Linked DNA regions of Homo sapiens: all the other regions are linked to region 4. Evidence: promoter capture Hi-C in 16 types of primary human blood cells and fetal thymus (Javierre and others, 2016). All regions are on one chromosome and are shown on one strand. The core of a region is centred on a gene start or on the middle of the fragment in contact, and the rest is flanking DNA. Distances in the headings are between cores, read along the strand shown.

The links. Contacts are between HindIII fragments. The CHiCAGO score rates a contact against its expected background, and 5 or more counts as called.
Region 1: a fragment that was not itself captured here is called in contact with the fragment with the promoter of PTPRK in region 4 in 1 of 17 cell types (fetal thymus); the score reaches 6.9 in fetal thymus.
Region 2: a contact is called between a fragment that was not itself captured here and the fragment with the promoter of PTPRK in region 4, in 1 of 17 cell types (fetal thymus). The highest score is 6.3, in fetal thymus.
Region 3: a contact is called between a fragment that was not itself captured here and the fragment with the promoter of PTPRK in region 4, in 1 of 17 cell types (fetal thymus). The highest score is 7.6, in fetal thymus.

What each region holds. Positions count from the first base shown.
Region 1 is chr6:128,005,362-128,008,528 of GRCh38, reverse strand. All of the region lies in intron 14 of PTPRK (protein tyrosine phosphatase receptor type K), which reads left to right. Among named protein-coding and RNA genes, the nearest start is that of PTPRK-AS1, 21 kb to the left of the region's middle. The HindIII fragment of the contact is 8,842 bases long and covers 1-3,167 here.
Region 2 is chr6:127,989,059-127,992,336 of GRCh38, reverse strand. PTPRK (protein tyrosine phosphatase receptor type K) reads left to right here. Exons shown (of 30, transcript NM_002844.4): 20 at 946-1,043; 21 at 1,452-1,568. Among named protein-coding and RNA genes, the nearest start is that of PTPRK-AS1, 37 kb to the left of the region's middle. The HindIII fragment of the contact is 1,142 bases long and covers 1,238-2,379 here.
Region 3 is chr6:127,952,368-127,955,747 of GRCh38, reverse strand. No RefSeq gene overlaps it. Among named protein-coding and RNA genes, the nearest start is that of THEMIS, 53 kb to the right of the region's middle. The HindIII fragment of the contact is 7,407 bases long and covers 1-3,380 here.
Region 4 is chr6:128,518,752-128,521,907 of GRCh38, reverse strand. PTPRK (protein tyrosine phosphatase receptor type K) reads left to right here and starts at 1,309. Exons shown (of 30, transcript NM_002844.4): 1 at 1,309-1,649. The coding sequence starts at 1,550. RefSeq lists enhancers at 947-1,541, 1,542-2,135. The HindIII fragment of the contact is 3,706 bases long and covers 1-1,850 here.

The DNA of each region.
Region 1 (3,167 bases), core at 481-2,980, 510 kb after region 4:
TTGCTCTGGAGACCAAAGTATATTCCTGATGAAAAGCATTTCAAAGTACACAGTTTTTATAATATGAGCTATTGTACATTATATAAAATGCCATAAATCTGTAAGGCATTGTCTTGGAAACTAATATAGCACTCTAATCCTTCCCATCATGTATTTGGGTTAATGCTACAATTTGGAAGGACTTTTAAAAAAAATATTTATAAGCAAAAGTACAGTCCTAAAATAGTTTGGTGTATAGAAGTGGTTGTGATCAGTGAATTCTATTGAAAAATATAATAAGTGATGTTGCTTATATTACATTAAATTATCTAGTTTACTATTATAGTTATTTTATACTTGAAATAAAGCATTAACATTATAGATAAGACTCATACTACATGTTTTAATGATTCCATCAGAGTTTATTTTAATATATTGCCTCTTTACGATTATCCCCTGGAGATATATATGTTGGAGAAGACACATCTGCATTAGAAACATTAGGTATGCATTATAGTGTTTTGTGTTAAATTAGCTACATACGTGCTTTCCCCAAATAGTGCTTTCTCTTGCTGTTGTCTCCCTCTGTGGTTGGAAAATACATCATATGTGAGGCAAAAGTTTTAAGTATTTTAGCAATAAAAATTTGCCAGTAAAGATCAATAAAAATCACCAAATGTAACCTTCAGACCTTATGTCTCTGTTTAGTTTAAATTTGTATTTGGAGACTTAAGTAAACAATTTAGAGAGTAAAGTTAACTAAACATTGCTTCACAATGTTCTGGTCACTTCAGATTGGATGTAAACATGAAAGTGGCTTCTGATTATATCCTCATTCAGCTAGAATTGGGCTAAACTATTCAGTTTTATTTGTTATTTATTTGAAAACATTCATTTGTCTTGATAACTCTCCCTATCCAGGCCTCTGATTTAGCAATAATGAAAAAATTGAAAAATTAACCTCCTAAAGTATGCTAAAACCATCACTAAGCAAGATTTTGGGGGAAGGTAAAATGCTCTGACAGCTCTCTAAAATTGTGTAATATGACAACTTGATTTTCTGGTTCATATATTAAATGGTTAAGTTAATGAGCCTCTCTATTAAAATATTTAACATTTGAGCTTTCATAATTATGCTTTGATTGTCTTTTGATAGAAAGTATGCTAGGGCTTTTGCTTCTGTTCCTCACCATCACCTTTATACCCAGGAAAAGCTGCACTTTTAAAGATAGACCAGGTTTCATTATTTAGATATGTTACCTTCTAATATATAGTATTTATATCTACATTACTTGAATTTCTTACTTACCAAAGCAATTTTGTAATGACTTTTACTCATATGTAGCGTGTCACACATGTACCATGTATGCTTTAATCACAAGTATGTTTATCATACATATAAAAAAGTATAGATATAGCAGCATTGCATTGGATATTATCATCAAGTATAGCTTAAAACTATTAATATAAAATGTTTCCCTTTTAATATATAAATTTATAATAAAAATAATGGAAAAGGAAATTACTTTAGCCTCTTATCTACATTTTAGTGGGAAATTGTTAAGTTTGATTTTATCCCTCACTGGGATGAATACATGTAGATATATTTCTTATGCGGAAAACAGTTCCATGTCTTTTTGGTTGTTTTGCAAAAGAATGGTGTATAATTCAATTGAGTAAAGTTTTACAGCTAAGGATATGTATAAAGTAAGTTTTTAGGCTAAGAAAAGGGATATTGCATCTTTCAAAACGCAATGTCATTTTTTAATTTAATCGCTATTCAATTATTTCCAAATGTATGCCATTTTTTCATTGGTTGTGTATTATATTTTACATGCACAGCATGAACACATTAATAACTCAAACATAAATTTGAAATTATGTTTCAATACAGTAAATGTTTGTGTATGATATCATGTTCACATGCATCTACTGTAGAAGTATCTGTGTATATATAGTATATGGTATATATGTATATTCACATAACATATGTATATACCTATGTACCATTAAGATATAATAACTTGTTTGTAGAAATTTAGGTGTTATTCTGTATATATGATATATTAACATAATAGATCTTTATGTTTTGTATCTAAAGAAAAATAATCTATATAGTACACAAGTTCTATGCACAGCTGTTCCATCTGTCATATTTAGATAATGGATGATATTATGCTTAACTGCATGTTGAAAATACACAATCCATTTAATTTTTCAATATTTTGGCAATAAGAAATACCAGCATGTTATTTTTTCCAAATTATGTATTTTAAATTTTATTTTTATATTGCATATCTGTCTGTTTAATTGCATGGCAAAAAAAACTAACAATGCATGAGCAAATTGAAATGCAAAGCAAAAAAAACATGAATTTTATTTTATTTTATTTTATTTTTTAACGCACATTTTTCTGCTTTATTGAATGTGACAGAGTCACGCTTTTCATTCACCATTGCTTCTCTTTTTCCACTGTCTGTGATTTGCTTGCCAGGAGGAGCTACTATTCTTACTCCTACTACCTGTAAGTAGAAAATGGGTGATGTACAACTTTACGTGTGTTAAGGATGCAGTATCCCTTTTCAAAAACAAAACAGAATGCTTGCAATTTTGGTGACATTTCAAAAAAAAAGTTTTTTCAGACTCTAAAACTATAAACTTTATCTATCACCTATTTTGCCAATCTTTTTAAAAAGGGATATTGTATTTCTGTATGTCCAGCTACTTTTAATTTAGTTATAATTTCCATAAGTAGCTTTAGTCTAGAGCCAAAAACATAATTTATTTACTAAAGTTAAACCTGTACCTTATCTTAGCAATATGGCACTTCACTCATCTGGTAAATGTCTGTTTTAATTTGGTGGCTACAGTAAAACAGACTTGAAAAGTTAGTCATGTTATTTCTAAAAGGAACTAAAAGTTGATCAAAAGAATTAATTACCCAGGAGTATCAAAACTTGGCTTTAGCTTGAATATTTATTGAATTACTCTAGTAAGGAGGTATTTATTTTGCTTTTAATAAATATAATTATATTTTATGATATTTAAGAGAACAGGAAATGATGAGAGATTTGGATTGACAGCTTGAATATTGAAATATGCATCTGACAAAATACTTTTATAGCAAGGAGCAAATATAATTGTTTGAATGTCAAACTTAATTCCTGAAATTGTGACCAGTGCTTGGG
Region 2 (3,278 bases), core at 559-3,058, 530 kb after region 4:
GAGGCCTGTCTTCTTGCAGCAAGTTTGTTAGTAGTACCCAAGACCAATATTGTTATAATGAGCTGTTATACTGAGCAATTTTTTGACGAGTCAAGACTGAGACAAAACAAAGAGATGGAATTTAGTCAAGTTAATTCTTCATGGAATATAATAAGACAGTAGAGAGATCTTGTTATAGTGGTACACTGGGGAGTAAAAGTATCCAAATAACAACAACAAAAAAAGCATCTGTAGTTATCTCTCTAAATTGACTACTGGCCCTCAGAAGAGAAACCTGTACATCTTTTTTATATAAAAGGAAAGTAAAACAAAAGCTAGGTTTACTCTTTTAACAGGGGTCATTTTTCTGTGTTTTCACATATCTTTGGAGTAATTGAGTTCAGTTGTGTACTCTTTAAAGTTAGAAAGATCGACCATAGTGGTGAACAATATTCAGTTTTATGGTATTCGGTAGAGAACAGCCCAGCACATGCTTTTGCAGTTTGGAGATATTATGATAAGATTAGGATATGTCCTTACGTGTAAGGATATGTTTTTATTGATCCCTAAACATGCACTATTTATAAATAGTGGGCACTTATTTAATTGGTAATATATGCTGTCTGGTTGATGGTGGTATAAGAGTTCTATTTTTTACACATATTTGAAGATGCATTAAAGTGACTTAGTGACAAATATAAATACCCAAGAAACTAGTGATAGTTTCTTCTAAATTGGGAAGTGTAGAGGGCAAATTGAAAAAAAAAAAAAAAAAACTTGTATATGCCTGTGTTTTTGCCTATTGTGGGAATTTAGATATGAACTGAATTTAAGTATTTTCAGTGACATTTTGTGTTAGACCTTTTTTGGAATTACTTAGTTTACTCTGCTTCTTATCTTAGCTAAACTTCTTACTAACTACAAAATTCCTTTGATAACATAATATTCAAATTAATTTCTTTGTAGGTCCCGTTCATGAAACAGTGTATGATTTCTGGAGGATGATTTGGCAAGAACAATCTGCTTGCATTGTGATGGTTACAAATTTAGTTGAGGTTGGCCGGGTAAGAGGAAGAAAAAGAATTTTTTTGTCATAAAAATGAACATAGTTGAGAAGCAACATGTAAGACACTCAAAATAGAATATCATCCAATTGTTTAAAAAAAATTATAGGCACAACATTTTAGTTGAGTACTTCTAAGTAGACCTTGACTGGCTGAAAAATTATTTGATTTCTCATTGAGTAATAAAATAAGCTTTAATTTTGTACTGGAATCTAACTGCATTATCAGGCTTGTATATTTTTTGTGAGACTATATAAACTCTGTTTATTGTATAATAGATTTTTTTCTCATTTATAGATTTTTAAACTGAGTTTTAATTGTGACAAGGAGTTATTGCTGGAATTAAATCACCTTGGCTAATTAGTATTATATATTCAGGTCTGTCTATATATTCTTTTTGTCACTTAGGTTAAATGCTATAAATATTGGCCTGATGATACTGAAGTTTATGGTGACTTCAAAGTAACGTGTGTAGAAATGGAACCACTTGCTGAATATGTAGTTAGGACATTCACCCTGGAAAGGGTAAGTACTCTAAAATTCTATTTTAAAAAGTGATATCAAAACTGCTTTTTCTCTTAAAATCTTTGCCAAGTTCTGTTTTGATGATGCTATAAAATCCATTCATTCATGTATTCATTCCACAAATGTTTATTTGAGAGTTTACTATGTGCCAGACATGTTTCTAAACCTTGGGACACATGTTAAAATCGCCTCGTGTGGATCTTAGAGCCGATTGAATTAAGACAGCAATAAAAATAAATAAATCAACTAATATATCATACATCATGACAAGTGATATAGAGAAAAATAATGTTGGGGAAGGAAGTAGGGAATATTATTTAGGCAGGGTAAGAAATGGTTTACAATTCTGAAAGGATGATCAAAGAAAAACTCATTGTTGAGAAAGTAATATGAGTAGAGACCTGAAATAAGTGAGGGAGTGACGGGTTATGTCCAGGGCAATAATGTTTCTGACAGAGGGGAGAGTCATTTCAGAAGCCTAGAGGCATGTGTAAAGCTGTTAGAATGCCAGACAGTCACCAGGCCAAGATGTGCAGATATCCATAAGTGAAGGGGAAAGAAATACAAAATGAAGGCAGAGAAATCACAAAATTGGATAAGTGGTGCCTTGTAGGCCATGATGATTTTAGTTCATACTAAAATTGAGTTAGGCTGCCATTGTAGGGTTTGTGAGCTCAGGGATAACATGGTCTGAATTTTATTTCTAAAAGGATCACTCCAAGTGTTACATTGCAAAGAATAACGTAAGGTGGCTGGTGTAGTAGACTAAAGTGAAATATAGTAACAGTGAAATACATTTTGTGGTAAAGCTTGGTAGATTTGACCACACAAAATTGTGAAATTACCTGTGGCACAAAAAAATATCAAAGGTACATACAGACAGAAGAACCTTGCGATTGTTTATTAATGTCCTTAATTTATAATGTTAATACCAGTAGAAGAAAAAAAAAAAAACTAGAATCTCTGAAGAAACACAATTGTTAACAAGCCTATTAAAAATGTTTAACCTAGTGTACTTATATACCATTTTGTCCTTCCAAATCAGCAAGAACTTTAAAAAAGAATAATCCTCATTGATTGTTAGAGTATGTTGAAACATATTTTTATACATTACTGATCATAGTTAAATCGCTACAAACCTTCTTTAAATCAATAAAACAGTATATCTCCAGAGCTTTAAAATGTTTATGTCCTTTGAGAAGTTAACTTTCATGAATCTCTCCTAAGGAATTTATTTAAAATACAATGACTTCATTTATAGTATTAAAAACTTATAGATAACCATAAATGCCCAACAATAGAGAAATAATTGCATAGTATTTTATAAAAATACTTGTGAGTTATCCTACCAACATGAAAAAATTAGGCAAAATATTAAGTTGAAATAGCATTATACAGAACAACATAATCATGATTATTGTAACTGTAAAATATGTATGAAAATTTCTTAGACAAATCAAGTAGAATAAAATAAGCAATTGATATGGGAGATTTCAGAAAGAACCATTAAGCTTGATTTAATGAATAACTAGCTCATATTATTAAAAAAGAAATGTGGAATATGCAGTCTCTTAAGTTCATACAAGTCTTGTAAAAATCAATGATGAACTTAGTAATAAGGAAAACCTGAATACATAACAAAAAGTTGAGATATTGCCAAAATCCAATAGAAAGCAATGATGACAAACTGCTGACCAGTGACCCCAGAAA
Region 3 (3,380 bases), core at 56-2,555, 570 kb after region 4:
AACTTCTTGAATCTGCATCACCCGGGGTCCCTTGCTTTCTGCCTTAGAGTTGGTTTGGCCAAGGCAAGGCACCAACAAAAGACCAGCTGGTGGGAGGAAAGGGAGGTGGTACATTCCCCATACTGGTCCACATTTTTTATAATGGCTGCAATTCCTCTATCAATGTCCTGGGAGGGAGCCATTTGCCCCATAACTTCAGCCCTCCAGGTTCCAGTAACACTGCTTTATTCTTGTCTCCATTCAGGCCCAGGGATGATAACTTATAGCTTTGTTACTTCTTGGGTGCTTTACCAACCCTTATTGGTACTACTGTAAATAGTCTTTTCAACAACAACAACAACAACAAAAATCCCTCAATTAACTATTTGAGTATGCCATCAATTTCCTGCTGAACTCTTGACTTATACTGTAATTGGTTCCAGAAGTTCCCCTAAAACACAGTTCATCAAATCGTATATGGAGTTGAGTCACTTATATATTTGATGAGTTGCATAGACAGACTTTTTGCCCTGGGGAAATTGAAACCTGGAAATCTGAGGCAAGAAATGGCTGGTACCTTTACTAAAACACATCAGCTTCTGGCATGCAATATGAACCTACTGACCTAGCAAATGCTTTCTTTTTAGTTTCCATCAGTAACTATAACCTGTAACACCTCACCTTTGCCCAGAGGGTCAGCAGTACAACTTTGCTGTCTTTTATCAAGACAATATCTGATCTCTGTCATGTTGAGGTCTAGACTAGAGCAGTGATCCTCAAAGTGTCATCTGTGAACTGGTTTCTGGTCCATGTTTCTTATTTATCCCCAATGAATTAGGAAGTTTGCACCAGAATGTGAACTATACCACTAAGCACACCGTTTGGCTCAGCTGACAATTTTTTTCTTAGAAAGACTTTTTTGATGAAGGAGTAGTGCATTGATTTATTTTCTGGTGGAAGCTCCTTACCTCACTGTTGCAGGCACGTACTTTGAATAGCTGCTTCCTGGTCTAGAGGGAGCTTGATTATCTTGACACCCAGTAGAATGCCATGTTGGAGCATATTAATTTTACCATGTCATCAGGAAGAAACTAACAACCTGATGCCTTAGGAAGACAAACACATGACCAAGGAAGGGAGACAAACCATGTGAAAGTTCATAGACTTGTGATCATATGAAGTTTCTAGTGTGACAATGCTGTGAAAATGGCAGAATATTCCTTTTCAAATTAGAAACAAGTTGTCTCACTTTGCACAGTCCACAAAAGAAAGAGCTCTAGCATTCAGTATGTCTCATTGAAACTGGGACGCGACAAATTCCATATTTGGATATACTACTCTGGCCCAACCACCAGGTAACCTATACAGCTACCTGTTCCAAGGGATATTTAGAGCAAGGTGGGGTTATGCAGCAGGTCCAGGCTTCTGTGCAAGCTGACCCATCACTTAGACCTGTGACCCAGCAAAGTGAATTGTACTTGAAGTATTTGTGGCAGAAAGGGATAAAATCTGTTGCCAGCAACAATGACATCACCAGACCGCTGAGGTTTTAGAGTAAGGCTAATTCCTCTTCTTCAAACTACTATCCTCCATTGGTAAGGCTGCTTTTAGTTTGTTTCTTGGCCCTGGTGGAAAAGAAGCAGATGATGGTGGTATGGAACACCAGCGATATAGGTATGGAGCTACCATTAAGAACTGAGTGCTATCTGACCCATAGAATTACGAAGTGGGATGTGTGCAGCCGTTTTTCGTGATTAAATGTAACTTATACATATGAATATAAGACTGAATTTGAAAATGTGAAGAAACCACAAGTATATTTCAGGAGTGGTGGCTCAGAATCCTCTAGCATCTGCTCCTGCTCTTCACCTCCTCTTCCTGAACTCACATCTATGATACCATTGAGATGATAAAACAATTGTAGTTTTGTTAGTTAGGTACAAGACCCTTCTTGTTTTGCAGGGTCTAGACAAAGGGTTGGCAAACAACTGCCTATGGGCCAAATCTAACCTGCCACCTGTTTGTCCTGATCACAAATTAATAATTTTTACATTTTAAAATGGTTTAGCGGGGCCAGGCGCAGTGGCTCATACCTGTAATCCCAGTACTTTGGGAGGCCAAAGTGGGTGGATTGTCTGAGGTCAGGAGTTCAAGACCAGTCTGGCCAACATGGTGAAACCCCGTCTCTACTAAAAACACAAAAAATTAGCCGGACATGGTTGCAGGCACTTGTAATCCCAGCTACTCGGGAGGCTGAGACAGGAGAATTGCTTGAACCTGGGAGGTGGAGGTTGCAGTGAGCCGAGATCATGCCACTGCACTCCAGCCTGGGCAACAGAGAAAGGCCTCAGCTCAAAAAAAAAAAGAAAGAAAAAAAAAAGGTTTTGGGGAAGAATCAAATGAAAACTAGGAGTTTGTAATGTGTAATCATTATCCAAAACTCAAATGTTAGTGTGGGTGCAATCTATACTACAATAGCTAAAGCCTAAAATATTGACTATCTGGCTTTTTATAGAAATGTTTGTCAAACTTGTTCTAGAAGCTGCCGAACTACATTGCCTAAAATGCTTACCAGCAGATTAGATTCTGGTAATGAGAGAGGTTTGCAAGAGATTTAGAAGGAAGAAAAGAAGCAGAAGGTAGTAATCTCCTACGGCGTGTAAGAGAACTGCATGGGCTTTGGCAGATGGCTCATAGGAGGTTTTGCCAGCAGCTTTTAGGCCTTAGCTTACAAATTCACCACAGAGGCTCAGCCCAGATCACAAATGACTCCTGCACTTTATGGGCTCCTGAATTCTGATGTCAGTTTCCTCCCAGGCTTTGCTCTTCCTCCCTTCCAAAGTCTTGTGTAAGTCTTACATTCCTATATTTAGTCCCTTCCTCCTCGACATACCTAAAGTGGGGTATGTCTTTTTTTTTTTTTTTTTCAGTTGGAGTCTTGCTCTGTTGCCAGGCTAGAGTGCAGTGGTGCTATCTCGGCTCACTGCAACCTCCACTTCCTGGGTTCAAGCGATTCCCCTGCCTCAGCCTCCTGAGTAGCTGAGACTAGTGGCGCACGTCACCACACCCAGTTAATTTTTTGTATTTTAGTAGAGATGGGGTTTCACCATGTTGGCCAGGATGGACTCGATCTGCTAACCTCGTGATCCACCCGCCTCGGCCTCCCAAAGTGCTGGGATTCCAGGTGTGAGCCACCACGCCTGGCCTAAAGTGGGTATGTCTTATTTATTTATTTATTTATTTTTGAGATATGGTCTCACTCTGTTGTCCAGGCTGGAGTGCAGTGGCATGAACATGGCTCACTGCAGCATCGACCTCCTGTGCTCAAACAATCCTCCCACCTCAGCCTCCTGAGTAGCTGGGACCACAGGTGCAGGCCACCATGCCCCACTAATTTTTTG
Region 4 (3,156 bases), core at 60-2,559:
TGATATGTATGTGTGTATAATATGTATTTATATATGTATATATTTGTGTGTATATTTATTACATTTTTGTTTCCACAGGCTCTGTCATAAGTCTGGTCATTAATAGCATATATTTGATTAAAAGAATATGTGGCTTGGTAAATTATGTGAATGTTATATTAAAATGAATTTCACATTGTCTTGATTTACAAAGGCTAAGATGTCTGAGAAACTGAGAGATGTCAATCAACAGACTATTGTTTTAGCAATTGTACATAACACATAAAAATTCTGAATCAAAGTTATTATGTTATTCAATTGTGACCATACCTATTTTTTGTGACATTTTACAAAAATGAATAAAGTATGCACCATACAGTCTTACCACAGAAGTAAGGCAGGGTGGCATATGGCGAAACCACTTCAAGCTGCTGAAGTAGTTAACTGTGAAATATTTTACTGTCATAATATAGCATTATTTTCTGCCAGATGAATCATTCCGAAGAAGCTGTTTTCATGGTCAGTGTAAAAGTCCTTTTGTTAAATACTTATGTCTTAACTACCTACTAGATATTAAAAAAAACAAAACCACACACACACCAGACCTAGGTGCAAGGAAGGGATAATAAGCCCTGATGCAGTTCTTAGGTGAGAACTGGAAAGGGGCCGGAGGGTTTCAGAGCAACAAGCAAAGTCAGTGAAGCAGAGTAAATCCAAATACTTGGCCAATGACAAATAAACCAGAAAGGAGACACGCCAGCTGTTCACGCTGGAAAGTTACTGATCGTTTATTCTGGTTCAAGTTTTATTTATTCTATGAATAAGGGACAAGTTTTCGATGGGGGTGGGGTGTCTTATTCCTTATTACAAGAATAAGGAACGGGGAGTTTTCAAGGCAGGCGGGTGTTTCCTCAGGGCGCTTCCACACTCCCCTTTCAATCAGCAACCGCTCGGGGGGACCTCCACCTTGGGACGGAACCCCAGGACGCCTCTCCTCGGACGGCGGGGGTTTCTCTGCGCGCGTCCTCGGTCGTCTGGTCGCACGGCTTACCGAACTCTCGCCTCTCAAATTCTGAGTTCTGGAACAGGGCAGCGAGCTGCGCCGGCTCCCCTTTCTCGCTCGCTCCCTCCGAGCAGCGGCTGGCGGCGGGGCCCAGGCTGCGAACAAAGGCGGCGCGGGGCGCGCGGCCGGGGCTGGCGCGCGTCTCTCCGGCAGGAGGCGGTGGCGGCGCCGCGCCCGAGCCCGCATTCCTCAGAAGCGCCCGGAGCCCGCGGGGCGACGTCACCCCCGGCTCCGCCCCCGTCCCTCCCCGAGCAAAGTAACTCTTGACTAACAGGAGCAGCCTCCGCCGAGCATGGAGAGCTGCCGCCGCGGCCGGCCGGCGACGCTGGCGACGCTTTCGCCCCTGAGGTAGTTTGGCGACCGCGAAGAAGGAAAAAGGGCGGGCGGGCGGCTGTCCTCTCACCGTCCTCACCCCGCGAGGCCCGGCCCGCTCCTCCGTCGTGGATTTCGCGGCGATCCCCCCGGCAGCTCTTTGCAAAGCTGCTTGAAACTTCTCCCAAACTCGGCATGGATACGACTGCGGCGGCGGCGCTGCCTGCTTTTGTGGCGCTCTTGCTCCTCTCTCCTTGGCCTCTCCTGGGATCGGCCCAAGGCCAGTTCTCCGCAGGTGAGTGGCCGGGGGGCGTCCCCGACGAACGCCTGGAGTCCTGGGCTCACGAGGGGTGAGCCAGGTCCCCGCTAGGGCTGGGGACAAGGATCGTGGGGAGCTCTCTCTGTCCGGGGGTGGGGAACACAGGGTAGAGGGAGGGCTGTCCCCAGAGTTCGTGCCAGGTGGGACGCGGGGCACCCATTGTTCCTCTCCGAAGCTTGCTCGGGGCTCAGGCTGGCACGGTCTAGCCGGAGAGTGTGGGGACCTGCTGGCTTCGGCGTCTCGCGTGGCCTGCGCCGGGCTAGTGGGGAAGAGAGAAAGAAAAAGTAGTTACGACTCCCGTGACGGCACTCTGTTGCTTGTGGTGCGGGTTTGTTGCTGTCTGCCACTTGGGTGTTTAAACAAATTCCCTGGGAAGCCATTGTCAGAAATGTGGAGATTCGAAGGGACTGACCTCGGCGCGCTTTGCCAGGTGCTTTTTGTCCCGGGAATAACCTCCCCTGACTATTGTCTAACTACTTCCCCGTCCCTCCCGGAGTCCCCTTTTCTCCTCCCCCAGCTCTGGGTTGCTCCCGGGCTTGCCCTGTGCGCTCGGGCACTGCTTGGAGCATGTTCTGTGTGTGTGTTGGCGGAGCCCTGTAAGATGTGTTGAAATGCGGTTCTAAGGACCCACTCTGAGCGTTCATGGGCATCGAGGTCTGGGCGCCTGGTGGAGGAAGCCTGACTCGCGCGTGGGAGCCCGCTCCTCGGGCAAAACCACCGCCAGGCTGGCCCCGCGCTCCCCGGATCCGGCCTGGGGCTCTGGCCCCGCGCTCCCCGGATCCGGCCTGGGGCTGGAAGCGGACTGTAAATGTCTGCCTTCTGCCGGAGAACCCAAAAGGAGACAAGTGGAGCGTCTCGCTGTAGCCCTGGGGGTTCTCGGTCAAGCCGCTCAGAGAAGTCCGTGAACCCTGGCTCTCCCGGTCCCGCCCTCTGTTCCCCTCCAGTTTTGTTATCCTTCGTGTAGGTTGGTTGCTTCTTTCGTTCTCTCCTCTGGGGGCTCTGAAGTTTCACCAGGTGGACGCTGGGGAGCGGGCTCCCGAGCACTTGTCTACCTCCCGCCAGTCCTGACAACTTTTCTGGCCAACCTACCCAGCTTCGCTTGGCTGGCGAGCGCATCTGCTGCTGGGGTTCGCGGTGCAGATGGAGACGCAGTGGTGGCCAGAGGGTGATGGAGAAGACGGGAAAAGCGACAGCCACGCTCCTGGCTGAAGCCGCAGGACGCAAATAACTTACTTTGTACCTGACAGTTTCTCACGTTGTTGTGGAGGCCCTGTTTCCTGGAAATAAACTCAAATTGTTGTTTTCTGGAGTAATCGTTTATTTCCCTTCCATTGCTCTCCTACCCCCGCCCCATTTAGAACTCTGTAAAGGGAGTTAAACAACAGATTCAGGTGGCAGCATGTGTCGTACATTCAGGCAGAGATTATGAAATGGCAGCACGCAGAGGAAAAGCCCTGTATATAATTGATGTACGCAGAGGGTA